2 separate regions of the Homo sapiens genome follow, and region 1 is linked to region 2. Evidence: promoter capture Hi-C in 16 types of primary human blood cells and fetal thymus (Javierre and others, 2016). All regions are on one chromosome and are shown on one strand. Each heading gives the region's core, a stretch centred on a gene start or on the middle of the fragment in contact. The rest is flanking DNA. Distances are from core to core; before and after follow the strand shown.

Evidence for each region. The method cuts DNA at HindIII sites, captures the fragments that hold promoters and counts their contacts. A CHiCAGO score of 5 or more calls a contact.
Region 1: a fragment that was not itself captured here is called in contact with the fragment with the promoter of PRDM6 in region 2 in 2 of 17 cell types (megakaryocytes and erythroblasts); the score reaches 6.9 in megakaryocytes.

Annotation. Positions count from the first base shown.
Region 1 is chr5:123,610,611-123,614,404 of GRCh38, reverse strand. It overlaps CSNK1G3 (casein kinase 1 gamma 3), which reads right to left. Exons shown (of 14, transcript NM_001364140.2): 14 at 1-63. The coding sequence ends at 9. Among named protein-coding and RNA genes, the nearest start is that of CSNK1G3, 100 kb to the right of the region's middle. The HindIII fragment of the contact is 2,856 bases long and covers 596-3,451 here.
Region 2 is chr5:123,087,047-123,091,087 of GRCh38, reverse strand. PRDM6 (PR/SET domain 6) reads right to left here and starts at 1,847. Exons shown (of 8, transcript NM_001136239.4): 1 at 1,569-1,847; 2 at 482-1,088. The coding sequence starts at 1,073. It overlaps PRDM6-AS1 (PRDM6 antisense RNA 1), which reads left to right and starts at 772. Exons shown (of 2, transcript NR_146771.1): 1 at 772-1,016; 2 at 3,149-4,041. RefSeq lists enhancers at 2,108-2,652, 2,653-3,197. The HindIII fragment of the contact is 4,313 bases long and covers 1-2,556 here.

The DNA of each region.
Region 1 (3,794 bases), core at 774-3,273, 520 kb before region 2:
GTCCAGAGTCATTTGTGGCGCTGTATGGTTTTCCTTTTCCTTCGTTTGAAAAAACAGCAGCACCTGCAGATGAGGGAAACACTCTTTTTATTTTAAAAGCACTAAAATATCACAAAGTTGACTGTATCACTTTAACTTAAATGATCATAAAAAGCAACAGGCTAGTGCAAGATAAACAGTGATTACACCAATGAAGCATACGTATTAGTGAAAATATGGCAGAGCTATTACTATTATGTTTCATTCACATGCCTTTTAAGAATAGCAAGACATTCTATGCAACATAAAAAGGAGCCATTAAATTCAAAAGGTTTTTCACTAAGAGTAATTAAGAATTTCATTCTATGCATTCTCACCCTTTCTCCCTGATATTTATATGTGACTGTTGAAGCCATTAGGAAGGCAATAATGATCCTAACATTGGGGAGTTTATTCTCACCAATAATCAGTTTAGACTCCAAAAATAAAAAGACACTCCAATATACACTAGTCAACATTTTCCATCATATTAAAAAAGTGAAAGACAGAAAATACATTATATAGAATACCAAGACTGGCAATTTTGAATTCTTTAAGGGTTAAAGAAGGTCAAGCTTATTGAAAGTTTAGTTAAGGTAAAAACTATGCTTAATATTTAAAGTAGCACAATTGAGGTGATTCCATTTTACAAGTCAAAACTGTATATGCAAAAAAATATAATACTGACTTTTATTTCTAGGTGAAAAAAAATCTTGGCTGGGCACAGTGGCTCATGCCTGTAATCCCAGCACTTTGAGAGGCCGAGGCAGGAGGATTGCTTGAGCTCAGGAGTTTAAGAATTCAAGACCAGCCTGGACAATACAGCAAGACCCCATCTCTAAATATCTCTCTCTCTCTAACTACATATACACATACACAAATATCTCTAAATATATATATACACACATACATATATAAATGTACACACATATATTATATTATACATACATACGCACACACACACACACACACACATGCACTGGACATGGTGGCACCCGCCTGTTACCCCATCTCCTTGAGAGGCTGAGGCAGGAGGAATGTTTGATCTATGATTGTGCCACTGAACCCCAGTCTGTGTGACAGGGCAAGACCCTGTCTCTAAAAGAGGAGATGAACACATCAAGGCTGCTGTGGGAAAATGCTGTGGTCTGGTATGAACTGAAAAAATCACTGATCTGCTCCCACCAAAAAAAAAAAAGAAAAAAATTAAATACACATCTATCTTAAATGCCTCACAATCCTTCAAATAAAGGCATGAAGGTATGGCATTTTCCCCTTCCAGACATAAAAGAGTCTATTAAAATATACAACATGACAGACACTACATATAGTTAGGCACCTTTTCTTTTAACCTTTAAACAGTCAACCCCTTCCTAAGGTTGAATTTACTTTTGGCGCAGGCAAGCATGGTTGAGTATCCCTGGTTTCCACTGAAGTCCTCTGTGGGTATGTGGGCATGTTTATAAATCATATTTTGTAATAAAAGCAAAGTATATTTATATACATGGTGATTTCATCATCGAGAGCTGCCAATTCAGACTGTGTATAATATGCCCTTATAAAGATGTTTCTATAATTCTTACTAATCTATATTCATAGAAGAATAGTTTTGGCCAGGAGGGGTGGCTCATGCGTGTAATCCCAGCACTTTGGGAGGCCAAGGTGGGCAGATCACAAGGTCAGGAGTTCAAGACCAGCCTGACCAACATGGTAAAACCCTGTCTCTACTAAAAATACAAAAATTAGCCAGGCGTGGTGACAGGCACCTGTAATCCCAGCTACTCAGGAGGCTGAGGCAGGAGAATCACTTGAACCCAGGAGGCGGAGGTTGCAGTGAGCCAAGGTCGCGCCATTGCACTCCAGCCTGGGCGACAGAGTGAGACTCTGTTCCAAAAAAAAAAAAAAAATAGCTTCAAGTGTCCCACCCGGCAAAAGATTACAGAATATAAAATAACTACTAGGTATGTTTTATATACTTCTGTGAAATAAATGTAAACAGAAATCTACACTGTCCAGTTAAATTACATAATCTCTCTACCCACATTATCTTTAGTCAAAAATAATTTTAAATTATTTATTGTGATTTCTGCCATAATTATGAAACTACTATGAGGGTACTGCAAACCAAATTACACAACTGCATTTTTTTAAGTAAACCAAACAGTAAACACCGACTAGACCGTGGAATGTAAATAATTTAAAATTGTGGACCAGCTGATAAAGATTCAACTAGAAATATATGTAATGATGAATGTTTATCAACTTTACTCTCATGGAGGTGACTAGCAGAAAGAACTGAAATGGATTACCCAGTCAAGAGCCTAGAGAAGAGCTGCCACAGTACAACAAGACTACACATGTAAGAGATTTGATCTGGATTTAAAAAAATAAGTCAAATTTATTTTTAACTGTCAGCTACCTAATATTTCTCAAATCTCAATTACTTTCTAAAAGATAAAATCCTTTACTCCAAATGAACCTTTAAATTTAAGACTTAGAAAAGAGCAGAAAAATATCCAAATAGCAGAAAGCAAGACATAAAAATAGGTATTTAGAAGTGACAGACCAAATACTTAGAATATTAAATTTAAGAATATGGCCATATTTCAATGGAAATTTATTGTTTGATATAAAATTCCTTTAATAATGTTCACTATTCTTAAACACTATCCTTTCAAATTCCAAAGTAGATTCTTTCAAAATTTTCTAAAGTTGTATTAGCCCTTTGAAATGGGCAATTTAATGTAATACACATTTTGATGAACAAGACAAAGTCCCAAATTTTCTACACTTGTATCAGCAATTTACTTTGCTTAGTTTGTATTTCCAGTACTGAGAGTTCTGAGAGTTGAGTTCTGAGAGTTGAGTTCTTTACACTTAAGTAATCTTTCCTTCAACAGTGTTTTACTGAACTACGCCAAGCATTTATTTGAGACTAAATAAGATTTTCAAATAAATTCTAATGGCCCTTAAATTCAAACACAATCTAAAAAGGACATCTATTTTAAATAATTCCCACTAAATAAAGAACGTCCTTATAAAGATTTGCAAAAGTAAAGCTGGCATGCTATTAAAGTTACTACCACCAGAGGACAGCATTGCCTTATGTGATACAAATGCATCCAAATAGACAAGAGAGAGGTTCTCAAAATACGATATACTTACAGAAGTTAGGAAGTAAATTGATGTTTTAACCTTATGGCTTATTTCTTAAGATAAAAGTAATTACCGAAACAGCTAATTTATAGTCTTAGAGATTAAGAAATCAGGTCTCATCTCAATTGCTTCCTCTTCCCCAGCACTTAATCTGAAACAGTGCTGCTCCCATGTAGCCACTTGAGCACACTATTGTTTTATTTTTCTGTAATAACTTACTCCTACTTTGAAATTATTTTATTTATTTATTATCTGCCTTTGCACTAGAATTTAAGCTTCATAAAGGACTGCTCACAGTTATAGCCCAACAAACTGGCACAAAGTTAGTACTTATTTAATAGTGGTCCTCCCACTTCAGCCTCCTGAGTAGCTGGGACTACAGGCGCCGAGCTGGTAAATTTTTTTTTCATTATTTTTAGTGGAGACAACATCTCACTATGTTGCCCAGGCTGGTCTCAAACTCCTGAGCTCAAGCAATCCTTCCACCTCAGCCTCTCAAAATGTGAAGCTACATCTCTACTCTAAAATTCTTTGGGAATATATGTTAAGTCCTACTTATGATGAACTTTAGAAACAACCTTAGTTTCTTTAAATACAATTAGGCAACAAACAGGCAATCA
Region 2 (4,041 bases), core at 598-3,097:
AGAGGTGGGGTGGAGAGTAGCAAAAACAAGCCCTGGTCTGCGTGCTCCCCAGAGACGCTGAGGGTCCCTCCCTCGTCCCGGCTAAGGCCAGGCAGGGCCTGACCCAGACACCCCCTGTCACACGCTGCCAGTACCCGCCTGGCCCCGGGCACTGTCCGGCGGGAGGGCAGAGGTCTGTTAGGCCGGGTCCACGGTAGACTCCGGCCCCAAACACTTGGGACTGTGAAGCAGGTGAGGAGAGGGAGGGAGAGGGAACCCCAAAGTGCCACCGGCCGTCCCATCCGTTCTCTTTCCTTCTCCAACGCCAGAAAACTTTTGTCACAGAGATCGGGGAGGCGCGGGCCAGCGGCCAGGACCAGGTGCTCCCCACCCACCCGGCCCCGTGTCACTCCTATCCGACCCGCCTCCCTGACAGGCACCCGCGCCCGCCGGCGCCGGCGCCGGCGCCCCGGGAGAGAGCGCGCGGGCTGCGGCTACGTACGGTTGTTGGGGTCGCTGGTGTGCTGGTTGAGCGGGATGATCTCCATGCGCTGCTGGCCATACAGGTAATAGTCCAGCTCCTCTGCGCTGCAGCGGAAGCGCGGGGCGCCGCGACCCTCCCCGCCGCCGCCGCCACCACCACCGCACTTGACGGGCCCGGGGCCGGAGGTGGCGCCGAGGCACAGTTCCTTGGGGGGCAGCGGCTCGGCGGCGACGGCAGCGGCGGCTAGAGGCGCGAACACCGGCAGCTGCGACACCGGCAGGGCCGAGAGACCAGCCAGCGCGGCGGCAGCGGCCGCAGCAGCGCAGGAGGAGGCGGAGGAGGCGGAGGTGGAAGAGGAAGCCGGCGTGGACGAGGCGGAGGAGAGAGAGGCGGGCCGCGGGCGCAGGCTGTCCGGCGGAGGCTCAGCGCGCTCCGGGGGCGGGGGCGGCGGCGGCGGCTGAAGAGGCTGCGGCGCGCTCAGGAGACCCGCGGCGCCGCTGCCCTTGAGCGGGCCTGCGCCTCCGTGAGGGAAGAGTTGCTGCCAGTGCTGCAGGTAGGCTGGGTCCACTTTGAGGAAGGCCGAACCGCCGGGGTCTCCGGGCTTCAGCATGTCCGGCGCCTCGAACTGGGGGCAGAGGGCAGGGAAGAGGGGGCGCGTGAGCTGGGCGAAAGGGGCCGGGAAGAGGGCCACTGGGACCCTGGAGAAAGTGCCCGAGCCGGTGGTTCAGCCGGCGGCCGCCCGGTTCCGCGGCTCCCTCTTCCCAACTCCGCTTGGGCGCAAAGTTTACTCCGAAGCTGCGGCGCCGCACAGAGGGAGCTGTGTGCACCCTGCTCTGCCTCCCCGATCGCAGCGTCCAGCTCCCATCCAGCAATGCTGGGGCCCGACAGGAGGGCGCTGCCCCGTAGAACTCGGCTGCAGGACGCAGCCCCCGCCCTCAGCCAGCGCCCGGAGCCGACCCGAGCCGGCGTGGCGCAGCGCCCGAGCCGCGTTGGCCTCAGGCGCCAGGAGGCAGAACAGTCTCGCCGCCCGCCCCCAACCTAGGACCACCAACCTTCCTATCTACCAAGCCCTAGACTCTTAAGTCCCAGACCAGCCTCACCTTACCTGAAAACTCGGTGCTGCCGGTGGGTGCGTGCGGGTGTCTCGGTGAGCGTGCGGGTGCGCGAGAGTGTGCGCCCTGCGTGCGCTACATGCCCCTGAGCAGCGCGGGAGGAGAGTCCTAGAGATTGTGCCGCCCGGAAACCTCCCGACCTGCAAGCGAGAAAATTGGGAGGCCCGCGGAGGGCGCGAGAGTGCGGACGGACCTGGGCGCCCGACTCAACCGCCGTGGGCTGCTGCGCTTGGCCGCTGCCGCGTCCTGGCTCCTTGGTTCCACGCTCTGGCAGCTTCCCGGCTGGACACGTGGGTTTTACGACAGCACAAAATAGAGTGAGTGTGTGTGTGTGTGTGTGTGTGTGTGTGTGTGTGTGTGTGTGTGTGTGTGTGTGTGTGTGTGTGAGAGAGAGAGAGAGAGAGAGAGAGAGAGAGAGAGAGAGAGAGAGAGAGAACGGAGGGGGGAGGGGAGGCAGGCCAGAAGAAGGGGAGGGGAGAGGGAAGAAGGAAGTTCTAATTCGGCCCGACCCACATCGCCAGAGCGCCTTTCCCGCACAAACTCCTCCGCCCTCCCATCCCCTGTTTTTTTGGCGTGACGTCTGCCGCTAGCCTGTTGTCTCTTTCTGCCCATGATATGTCTTTTCTGGGTCCCAGCTCAGTGCCCTGATCTTGAAAGCAGTGGAAATGCGGCAACGGGAATGCATCTCCGCACACGCTGTGGTGTCCGCGCTGGAGCAAGCCCGCGCCGCCAGGACCGGGTTTGCGCTTTTGCCCGGCTCAGTTTTTCCTGAAGTGCTTCTGGGTGCCAGAGTCCACTCGCCCGCCACGCAACCTCTAACATAAATCCTCCGGGGAGAAAAGTTGGGGGCGGAGCGGGACGGGTTGCGCGCTGCAGTGAAACCCTCTGTCTGCAGCCCAGGAGGGAGGCTTGTCGGTGCAGGGAGGCGTAGGACCGAGGGTCCTGAGACCGAGAGCAGCTGGTCCTGGAGGGACTCAAGCTTGGCCGTGGGGCTGGGAGGCGGCTGCAATGGAGTCTGCACTCCACCCAGCGCTCTGCTGACCCCTTCTCGGGTTGTCTTCTGGAGGGCTCTTTCCCTCTCCTTCTTGGGGCCCGGAGACAAGTATCCAGTGTTACGTCTGGTGGCACAACTGCTCCGGGACACGGGCGAGGCTGTTTGCGGTCAGCTGCCTGCGGCTGCCGCAGGAGGTCACGCATAGGTTTCTCTACCCAAAACCTGGTGTTAGAGGGGCAGGGTGGGAGTGCAGCCCCACCTCCACCATGTCCTCTCCCCAGACTTTGTGCCAGGGCAGCCCTTCGATGCAGTCTCGCACCCACGAAGGAGGCACTTGCCCCCCAGCTCTTCCTGGCATTTTCGGTAGTAGATGGTAGAGGGCACAGGCAGGGTGTGTGAAATTGACCGACTCAGGAGGTACTTTCCCATCGCCGGGGTTCTGGCCATACCGTAAAGAGAAGAAACGGCATTTATCTTTTTCCAAACAACCTAACTTATTTAGCACTTGCCAATCTGAGCAATTAATAGCCATTCTTTCCTGATTTCTGCTTGTTTCTTTTTCTCTTCCCACCACTCAAGTTTTCTGAACCTGGGAAACGTGCTGTTCAGACTTCATCCGGGTCTCATTCAGGATGCTTCGATGTTGGTTGGAAGAGAGTTAGACCGAAAATGTTTTGACTGGCGTCGTTATGACAAGGTCATCCGTCATTGTTGGATAGATTGATAGCACCCAAGTTTAAGGCAGACACCACGAGGGAAAGCCCACGGCGCTGTGGTCCCGGAGGCTAACCAGGCAGTGTCCGCAGACCTCCAGCAACTCCATCGGGAGGAGAGGATGAAGTTCCAGGCCCGTTTCAATTAATCTGCTCGCAGAACTGCCGAAGAGTGGCTTGTCGGGCCACGGGAGAAGAAACAAATGCTCTTTCTCACACTCTCCTGGTTCATTGCTGAGAAACCAGGACACTCCTCTGTTCCCTGGGAGAGACAGTGAACTCCAGGGATGGAAGTCCGGACTCCGGCGGCGGTCCCGTCATTTGCCTTCTTGTTTCTGCCCAAACCCAGCTAGTTCCAAGCGCTTGGTCCCCAAGACTGGAAGTCCCCAAGAACCTACCTCTACCTGTCCCAACCCTGCCTCCCCCCTACCCTTTCACCCCCTGCCACCATTAGAAAGTCTCTGGATTTTGAAATGCTAGTTGCAGCAGCTGCTTCCGTGGCCTCATGCCGCCCACACTCTGGGAAGCGGAGGAGGGAGGGTTCCTCTCGTAATAAGATTAGCTGACCTGTTAATGAGAGTTTTGGACGTGCCGGGCGGGGGTAGGCGCTTTATGTCCATTTAATCCACCTACATGCGGAGAAGGCATTATCATTAACCCCCATATTGTAGATGGGGACCGCTGAGGTTCGGAAAGTTTAGATGGGTTGCCTAAGGTCACGCCATTAATGAGTAATGGAGACGGATTCAAATACCGTTC